Linked DNA regions of Homo sapiens: region 2 is linked to region 1. The links are contacts of gene promoters, found by promoter capture Hi-C in blood cells and fetal thymus (Javierre and others, 2016). All regions are on one chromosome and are shown on one strand. The core of a region is centred on a gene start or on the middle of the fragment in contact, and the rest is flanking DNA. Distances in the headings are between cores, read along the strand shown. Region 1 holds the start of CD80 (CD80 molecule). Region 2 has its middle 9.6 kb from the start of COX17.

Region 1 (5,154 bases), core at 1,544-4,043:
GAAAACAGATCTTTTGTTTTCTGACTTAAAAAAAAAAATCAGAACCATCCTGCCAGCAGGGACAAGCCTCACCCTTCTTGACAGTCCCAAAAGTTCAGCACTCTTAAGATCACCTGAGCAGGAACAAAAGCCTCTAGAAGTCAAATTATTACTTTCAGGACATATATGTAATACCTATGTGGCAGATTAAAAATAACTAAAAACATAATTTTGTGTTAAATCTGATACCACTTAAAGTCAGATGCCAATGTTGAAAAAAGATCTCAGCATCCAAAGCAGAACAAATAAGATTAATGTATTAAGAGGAACTTAAGAAGGTTAAGAAGATGAATGTCATTAAGAGGAATTGTCCTCAACTACTCTCCCGCCTTCAGATTGGAAAGAAGATCACCATTGTTCAATTTTAGAAGCAGGACACTTTCGCTGAGCTGTATCATGAAAACATAGTTTGGGACTAGACTCCGAGGCCAGTATCGGCACATCACAAAATGTAAATGAGCATCTAATATTCATGGAAGAGACCATTATGAATCGGCTGTATGGTTTTGTTAAAATAACACTGTCCCTTCCACGCTTCCTTGAAGGCCTGGGTTCTTGAGTTAACTTGGTTGCTAACTTGCTGTGTGATGATAGGCAGGTCCTTTAACCTCTTTGGACCACAGTCTTCTAATCTTTAAAATCTTCTGAAAACACCCTGAAGGTTCCTTCCAGCTTATAGGATAATAGAAGGGAGCAGCTCAGAGAACCCCATGTCCTTTCTCTTAACCCTGTAGCAGTTGACTCAGTTAAGTTCCTGAAAGTTGCTTACCTGAACAGAAGTGAGAAAGACCAGCCAGCACCAAGAGCTGAAAGAAATTGAGGTATGGACACTTGGATGGTGATGTTCCCTGCCTCCGTGTGTGGCCCATGGCTTCAGATGCTTAGGGTCAAAAGTGAAAGCCAACAATTTGGACCCAAGTAAGACCAGGGCACTTCCCAGGTGCAAAACAGGCAGGGCTGATGACAATCCAATTGCTCACGTAGAAGACCCTCCAGTGATGTTTACAAAACACACAGAGATTGGAGGGTGTTCCTGGGTCTCCAAAGGTTGTGGATTTAGTTTCACAGCCTGAAAAAGGAACAAATAAAAGTCATTCAGGAAGGAAGGTGTGCCTACTTTGAGTTGCAAAACTCTCGAGTTGCCTGCTAAAATTAATTGGAGAGCTTAACCTAAGCAACCTCTAAAGCAGGGCGTGACCCTGAGGAAAAGCGAATGGAAATTCTGTGAGGGGACCAGTTCCAAGAACCAACCACAGCCCTTCCATGAAAAGGCTTTCTACTTAATAGGTGGGGTGAAGATTTGGTTAGAAACAGGAGAGCTCTAAGGACCCTCCATATCTGTTAGCCAACCTGCAAAAGTTCAAATCCTCTTCTGAACATACCAAGAAACATAGAGCAGACAGTAAGGGTGTATTTTGTCCAAGGCAGGACCTAAGTTATGAAACAACTTCTTTCTTGACATATTAACATAAGAAAACAAGTATCTCAATTCTTTAAACCCTCTACTCAAATAATATATCATAAAGGGGTATGAGATCTCAATAACCAGAAAAGTCTATCCATAAAAAGGGAGGGAAAAAAAGACACTGCAGACGTTACTTATCAAAATTATGTACTCCAGGGCCAGGCGTGGTGGCTCACGCCTGTAATCCCAGCACTTTGGGAGGCTGAGGTGGGCGGATTACTTGAGGCCAGGAGTTCCAGACCAGCCTGGCCAACATGGCAAAACCCCATTTCTACCAAAAATACAAAAATTAGCCAGGTGTGGTGGTGGGTGCCTGTAATCCCAGCCACTTGGGAGGCTGAGGCACGAGAATTGCTTGAATCCAGGAGGTGGAGGCTGCAGTGAGCCAAGATGATTGCAACACTGCACTCCAGCCTAGGCGACAGAGTGAGACTCCATCTCAAAAAAAAAAAAAAAAAAAATTATGTACTGTCATGTGAGGTGGCTAGGGATTAATTTTTCCAGTAAATATGTCAAAATTGAGAAATGAAAATAAACACTGTGCTCCACTGTCACCCCTTCAGGCTGCTACCAGGACACAGCCCCGTGCTGCTCAGAGAATGCTTGAGTGTCCTCTTTGGAGACCACCCTAGAGCTAGAGTTCCAGCCACGCCATATTGTTTTATTAGCCATCATCCATTTTAGACAGGATTAGTTAAAAGAGACTTATTCACCAGAATTTGTTTTTCTTAAGATAGAATCTTGCTCTGTCACACAGGCTAGAGTGCAGTGGCGTGACCATAGCTCACCACAGTCTCAACCTCCCGAGCTCAAGCGATTTTCCCACTTTCACTAGAATTTTACTGGCTTGAGAAATTCAAATACGGCCCACAAAAACAATATTTGCTAGGATCTAGGATATTTTAAAATAATGGGCCACAATTCTCACTATGATGCTCCAAATATGTCGGGAAGCCACAGCCTCCTGTGGGAATGAGACCCTAAGGGTTCCTTTGAGGGCAAGCCTGGATCCAGGAGGTGGTAGCAGAGGTATTGTTTGTTTAAAAAGCAGTGAGGTTGCTGGTAACTAGTTCTACCAAGCTATCCCATAGTAAGATAATAGTAAATGTACTTACTTGCTGAAGAAAAATTCCACTTTTTCTTTAAATCCTTTGATTTCAGGGTAAGACTCCACTTCTGAGATGTTCTCTTCTTACAGTCTATAAAGCAATGACAAATCACTTTTTCTTTGGGTAATCTTCAGAGAGGCGACATTTCCCCTTCTAACTTCTGTTACTTTACAGAGGGTTTGAGTTCACTCAGTACTTGTCAGTGCCAGGAGTTGGACAGGGTGTTTGAAGAAGCGCCCTCTGCTGCCGTCTTCTTCTAGTTGCTTTTGTAGAGGCTGTGGCTGGGGCAAATCACACAGCAGCCTCCCTCACCACCGTGCATGGACTAACAAACATGAAACACCACGAGCACCAGGCGGCCTAGGGGAGGAGAAGAATGGTGCCCGAGAAGAGTGAGGGGCATCTGGCTAGCCTTGCTGTGTGATGGGAGGCCAGCTTCATGGGCTGGCTGTTTCTGTGCTGGTCTCAAGTTTTGTTTTAGCACCCAGAGTTACTCCTGAGTCCCTGCAGGAATAAGCTGTCAACCTCATATGTAGGGGACACTTTTGGGAGAGTGCTCAGCTCACAGGACCACCCAACTCTACTCCCACCTCTGAATCCCACCATCTTCAGAGAGTGGGCTCCTGCCAGCCACGCTGGACAGTGAATTCTGGTCACCCTAGCCACAGTTGAGTGCGCCTCTGGTGGGATGAGGAAGACTTTAGTCATGCCCATCACTCCCATTTCCAACTAGGTTGCCACCCACCCCTGTGTGTCCCTTTGTAGGATTCTGGAGCCCCTGTGAGTGAGCAGCTGACCCATGCTGGACCAGTGTACTTGTTTGCACAGGTGGAACCTGACAGCACCTTGCATGGGTTGCAGTGAGCCGAGATCACAACACTACAATCCAGCTTGGGTAACAGAGCAAGACTCCATCTCAAAAAAAAAAAAAAAAAAAAGACGCCATCCTTCCCACACCAGCCAGAAAGAGAGCAAACCGTGTGGGTGAGAAATACTGACTACAGCGGCGGCTTCCTTCATCTCAGCAACAAGTTTGTGGCAGAGCTTAGTGGATACCACCCTATTCACCTGAGATTTGGAATACTGAAGCTTTGGAAATCATGAAGGCAGAACTTGCTATGAAAGGACTCCACTGCACTGTCTCCTTCTGTATTGGCAGAAGGGGCCTAGTGAGCACCCTTCTTCACCTGTGTCTTGTTCTGGTCTCAGATGCATATTTTGAATAGTTGCAAGGAATATGGATGTGACAATTCCTGCCTTACCTCTAGTAGATCAACATTACATTTTCAAGTAAAGGGAACATAGATTGGAGGTAAGTTCATGTTTTCTATTTTCTTGAACATTTATTCAGATCAAAGAAATGTTTTCACTGATTTTAGCCACTTCTACTTGATACATTATTACAATGCACTGGAAGTGATTTTTTTTCCAGGTATTTAAAGTAATAGAAAGTTATAGATGTCAACTTAAAAGAGCAAAGAAATACAGAGTTTTAGAAATTTATTTTCTTTTTTTTTTTTTAGATGAAGTCTTTCTCTGCCGCCCAGGCTGGAGTGCAGTGGTGCAATCTTGGCTCACTGCAACCTCCGCCTCCTGGGTTCAAGCAATTCTTCTGCCTCAGCCTCCTGAGTAGCTGGGACTACAGGCGTGTGCCACCATGCCAGGCTAATTTTTAAATTTTTAGTAGAGATGGGGTTTCACCATATTGGCCAGGCTGGTCTCAAACTCCTGACCTTGTGATCCACCCTCCTCGGCCTCCCAAAGTGCTGGGATTACAGGCATGAGCCACTGCACCCAGCCGAGTTTTAGAAATTTCATGAGGGACTACATGAATACAAATTTTGACGATCACAGACACCCTCAAATTTTAAGAATCCCAGTGAAATCCTAACCTGCCTTGGAGAAACACACATTAAACAACTTTGCCATTAGCGCTTTGATGTGACTTAATCAAAGAGGCTGGAAGAAAGGAACACCAGGAAGGTACTTTACAGAGTTTCCCCAATCCTGATTGTAAAATTCAGAAGGCTTCTCTTCCAAGATTATGTACTAATGGGATGTGTTTAATTCCTCTTCCTCCTACAATGTGTCTAGGAGCATGACCTGTGGACCACAGATTTCTAAGGTAAATTTCTGGACACTGGAGGTGAGATGGATGAAGACGGGCAAAGGAAGCCGAACCCGAATACCTATATTACTGGAAAACAAAACAAAACAAAACAAAACCAAGTAAAAGATTTAAAAGGAGGCTGGGCACAGTGGCTCATGCCTGTAATCCCAGCACTTTGAGAGGCTGAGGTGGGCGGATCACTTGAGGCCAGGAGTTCGAGGCCAGCTGGCCAACGTGATGAAACCCCAGCTCTCCAAAAAAAAAAAAAAAACCAAAAAACTGGGCATAGTGGTGCATACCTGTAATCCCAGCTACTGGGAAGGCTGAGACATGAGACTTGCTTGAACTTCAGAGGCGGAGGTTGCAGTGAGCTAAGATTGTGCCATTGCACTCCAGCCTGGGTGACAGAGCAAGATTCTGTTTCAAAAACA
Region 2 (5,154 bases), core at 1,216-3,715, 130 kb after region 1:
CAGTGAGTCTTTCTTGGGTTAAACACCCCTTTTTTTTTTTTTTTTTTTTTTGGATTTGAGTTCTTCAGCTTTATTTGGGATTTCTTTATGAAGGGCCTTTCCTCTCCTATTTATTAGGCCTCTATTTGTAAGGGATTTGAAGAAGGCTTTGTCATTCTTCCCGGTGAGTATGTACTTTACTCTTTGGTTCATTTTGTGTGCTTGATTTTTATTTTGGCTTTTGTGTGTTTGGCTTTGCACTGACTCACTTGGATATGTTTATTTACAAATGAACTCCCCAAATTCAAAGATATACCAAAATAGCCCCCCAACATTGGGGACTCTAGCTTGTTATATGCTTAATTATTATGGTCCATCTTCCTATTCTTTTTTTATCGCAATGGACCAATTACACTAAAGAAAATTTGGAATTACAATGGCCATCTCTTGAACTCCCTAACTTGTTTTCTTAGAACTAAATTAGAAGGCCATGGCTACAAAATTAAATTGCCTGAAAGGAGCATAAACTTTAAGTGGTATCTTGAAGCATCTAAATGTATTCAAGCCTCAAAAATCACCTAACTCCAAAATACCATCACTAAGTTAACTAAGACAGATAAACAACGAAAGGAAGATTTTAAAAGGCCTTAGAAACTCAGAGTTTTTCTGCTCCCCTGGTACCACCACCTCTCTCTCCTCTCTACCCTTCCCTTTCTGAAAACCCCACTCAATCCTGATACTTCCTCCCCTACTACCCTCCCAGCTTCTGATCCCCATCCTCAACCTATAAAAACTTGTCCCTGTAGGGTTAGACCCACTAACAATCCTGAGGTTCCTTAGATTGTCTATGCCCTTGGAATAAGGCTGAAATCCATGTTAAAGCCAAGGAATTTCCTAAAGTTACCCAGGACCCTCTTTGCTTTGCTGATGAATTTAACATTACAATTGAAGCTTACTAGCCCAGCTTCTCTGATCTTAATCAACTTGTCCACATGCTTGTGGGAGAAAGCCAGGCTAATCACTGGATGAAAAAGGTCAGTTGTGGCTGGGTATGGTGGCTCACGCCTGTAATCCCCACAATTTGGGAGGCTGAGGTGGGCAGATTACCTGAGGTCAGGAGATCGAGACCAGCCTGGCCAACAGGGCGAAACTCCGTCTCTACTAAAAATACAAAAATTAGCCAGGCCTGGTGGCACACATCTATAATCTCAGCTACTCAGGAAGCTGAGGGAGAGTCATTTGAACCCAGGAGGCGGAGGTTGCAGTGAGCCGAGGTCACTCCATTGCACTCCAGCCTGGGTGATAAAGTGAGACCCTGCCTTAAAAAAAAAAAAAAAAAAAGGAAAGAAAGAAGAAAAAGGTCAATTGCACACACCCTGTATTAGTCTGTTTTCATGCTGCTGATAAAGACATACCCAAGAAGGGGCAATTTACAAAAGAAAGAGGTTTAATTGGCCTTTGGCCTTACAGTTCCACATGGCTGGGGAAGCCTCACAATCATGGTGGAAGGCAAGGAGGAGCAAGACCCATCTTACATGGATGGCAGCAGGCAAAGAGAATGAGGAAGATGCAAAAGTGGAAACCCCTGATAAAACCATCAGATCTTGTGAGACTTATTCTCTACCACAAGAACAGTATGGGGGAAACCATCCCCGTGATTCAATTGTCTCCCACTGGGTCCCTCCACAACATGTGGGAATTATGGAAGTATAATTCAAGATGAGATTTGGGTGGGGACACAGAGCCAAATTATATCATTTTGCCCCTGGCCCTTGTCAAATCTCATATCCTCACATTTCAAAACCAATCATGCCTTCCCAGGAGTCCCCCAAAGTCTTAACTCATTTCATCTTTAACTCAAAAGGCCATGGTCCAAAGTCTCATCTGAGACAATGCAAGTCCCTTCTGCCTATGAGCCTGTAAAATCAAAAGCAAGTTAGTTATTTCCTAGAAACAATGGGAATACAGACATTGGGTAAATACACCTATTCCAAATAGGAGAAATTGGCCAAAACAAAAGGACTACAGGGCCCATGCAAGTTTGAAATCCAGTGGGGCAGTCAAATCTTAAAGCTCCAGAATGATCTCCTTTGACTCCATGTCTCATATCCAGGTCATGCTGATGCAAGAGGTAGGTTCCCATGGTCTTGGGCAGCTCCACCCCTGTGGCTTTGCAGATTACAACCTCCCTCCCGGCTACTTTCATGGGCTGGTGTTGAGTGTCTGCGGCTTTTCCAGGTGCATGGTGCAAGTTGTCGGTAGATCTACAATTCTAGGATCTGGAGGACAGTGGCCCTCCTCTCACAGCTCCACTAAGCAATGCCCTAAGCAGTGCCCCAGTAGGTGTAGGGGCTCCAACCCCACCTTTCCCTTCTGCATTGCCCTAGCAGAGGTTCTCCATGAGACCCCTGCCCCTGCAGCAAACTTCTGCCTGGGCTTCCAGGCATTTCCATACATATTCTGAAATCTAGGTAAAGGTTCCCAAACCTCAATTCTTGACTTCTGTGCACCCTCAGGCTCAACACCACATGGAAGCTGCCAAGACTTGGGGTTGGCCATCTGAAGCCATGGCCTGAGCTCTATGTTGGCCCTTTCAGCCATGGCTGGAGTGGCTGGGATGCAGGGCACCAAGTCCCTAGGTTGCACACAGCTTGGGGACCCTGGACCCAGCCCATGAAACCACTTTATCCTCCTAGGCCTCCAAGCCTGTGATGAGAGTGGCTGCCATGAAGACCTCTGACATGCCCTGGAGACATTTTCTCCATTGTCTTGGGAATTAACATTTGGCTCCTGGTTACTTAGGCAAATTTCTGTCGTTGGCTTGAATTTCTTTTCAGAAAATGGTATTTTCTTTCCTATTGCATTGTCAGGCTGCAAATTTTTCAAACTTTTATGCTCTGTTTCTCCTTTAAAACTGAATGCCTTTAACAGCACCCAAGTCACATCTTGAATGCTTTGCTGCTTAGAAGTTTCTTCCACCAGACACCCTAAATCATCTCTCTCAAGTTCAAAGTTCCACAAATCTCTAAGGCAGGGGCAAAATGCCACCAGTGTCTTTGCTAAAATATAACAAGAATCACCTTTACTCCAGTTCCCAACAAGTTCCTCACCTCCATCTGAGACCACCTGAATCTGGATCTTATTGTCCATATTGCTATCAGCATTTTGGGAAAAGCCATTCAACAAGTATCCAGGAAGTTCCCAACTTTTCCACATTTTCCTGTCTTCTGAGCCCTCCAAACTGTTCCAATCTCTGCCTGTTACCCAGTTCCAAAGTTGCTTCCACATTTTCAGGTATCTTCTCAGCAGTATCTCACCCTGGTACCAATTTACTATATTAGTCCATTTTCATGCTTCTGATAAAGACATACCCAAGAAGGGACAATTTACAAAAGAAAGAGGTTTAATTGGGCTTACAGTTCCACATGGCTGGGGAAGCCTCACAATCATGGTGGAGGGCAAGGAGGAGCAAGTCCCATCTTACATGGATGGCTGCAGGAAAAGAGAGAATGAGGAAGATGCAAAAGCAGAAACCCCTGATAAAACCATCAGATCTTATGAGACTTATTCACTACCACAAGAACAGTACGGGGGAAACTTCCCCCACGATTTAATTATCTCCCACCAGCTCCCTCCCACAACACATGGGAATTATGGGACTACAATTCAAGATGAGATTTGGGTGGGGACACAGAGCCAAACCATATCACACCCCTAACAGAATTTAGAAAGACCCCTCCTCATCTCCCTATAAACTAGCTTATAATATTGGGAGCAGGAACGGTAACTTGCAAAAAGTTTATATAGGGCCATCCCCAAAGCATTCCGTAAAGCCATTGACTAGAATAAAATTCAAGCATGTACCCAAGAACCAAACGAACCAGTTCATAACTATTATAACAGACTCCAGATTGTATTTAAAGAGAATTCTGGCCTTCCCATGGACATTGACTCTACTAGAGTTGCCTTTAACTTTATGTTTGTTAATGGTCTCTCCTAACAATTTACTCAGTTAGTAAAAAAAGCTTGCAGGGAATGAAAACCCATGCCAATCCTTTACCTTGTTAATTTGGCAAATCAATTAGATAGCACCCTAGAGGATACCAATAAAAAGAAGACTACAAAAATCCCAAACCTCCAATTACAACAAATGAAAGGTCCCAGAGAAAACAATTAGGGCTCTGAATGGCACCACTCCTCTAATTCATGAAACTCACCTCCTGGCATCCGTCATTATTGTAAACAACCTGGCCACAGCAAGAAAAACTGTTATAAATTTAACCAATCTAAATAGTCTTCTTCATTTAGCCCTTTGACTCCTGCCTCCTAATGAAAGGGATCCAAAAATATACAGGGGCTTTTTCCAATTCTTCCCCTCAACCTCCTTGGCAATGAGGTCCTACCTGTTCTCATTGACACAGAAGCAACCCTATCAGTACTCAATCCCACCAACCTAAGCCAGGCCTTGCCTTGGAGTTATAAAATTATTCAAATAGTAGGAGTTTCTAATAAACCACTGATGGCATTTCAAGCTCAGCCCATTGCTTTTTGCCTTGGGTTTTTACAAGATACCTATCCTTTTTTACTAGCAGAATCTGCTCCAGCTAACTTATTGGGATGAGATTTAAAAAAAATATATGTCATGTTGGCATCTCTTTATCCCTAAAGGGGGAAATAATTTTGGAGTCTGATAAGCCCAATAGCCTGTTGAACTCTACCAATAATCTCCCACTCATTTGTTATGTTGTCCCATGTACTAAAGAACTCTCCACTGAGTCTCAGAGTTCCCTATTGGAACAGAAAACTGTCTCTTTATCAGCCACATCATCAACAGATGTTGGTAGAATTCATAATGCACCCTCAATCAAAATCCAAATTGATTCAACCAAGCCTTTGCCTAGTATTAAACAATATTCCTTAACCAAACTGCCTTAGACCCAATATTGAAGAATACAAAACTCAAGGCCTAATAATTCCCTGTATCAGCCCCTAATACTTCCACCCTCCCAGTAAGAAAACCTAATTGTTGAGGATGGAGAGTTGTTCAGGATCTCCATGCCATAAATAATATTGTTATACCCTGTCACCTCATGGTCCAAAATATACATACTTCTGTTCCCAAATCCACATACTGCTGACTTCTATACCTACTGATAGTGAATTTTCACTGTTATT

What was found. The method cuts DNA at HindIII sites, captures the fragments that hold promoters and counts their contacts. A CHiCAGO score of 5 or more calls a contact.
Region 2: a fragment that was not itself captured here is called in contact with the fragment with the promoter of CD80 in region 1 in 1 of 17 cell types (monocytes); the score reaches 5.3 in monocytes.

Annotation. Positions count from the first base shown.
Region 1 is chr3:119,556,821-119,561,974 of GRCh38, forward strand. CD80 (CD80 molecule) reads right to left here and starts at 2,794. Exons shown (of 7, transcript NM_005191.4): 1 at 2,620-2,794; 2 at 809-1,108. The coding sequence starts at 908. LOC107986118 (a long non-coding RNA gene) reads left to right here and starts at 3,610. Exons shown (of 2, transcript XR_001740861.2): 1 at 3,610-3,925. RefSeq lists a silencer at 1,102-1,396 and enhancers at 1,102-1,396, 1,758-1,917, 2,188-2,247, 3,018-3,067. The HindIII fragment of the contact is 26,007 bases long and covers 1-3,700 here.
Region 2 is chr3:119,684,387-119,689,540 of GRCh38, forward strand. No RefSeq gene overlaps it. Among named protein-coding and RNA genes, the nearest start is that of COX17, 9.6 kb to the left of the region's middle. The HindIII fragment of the contact is 3,074 bases long and covers 929-4,002 here.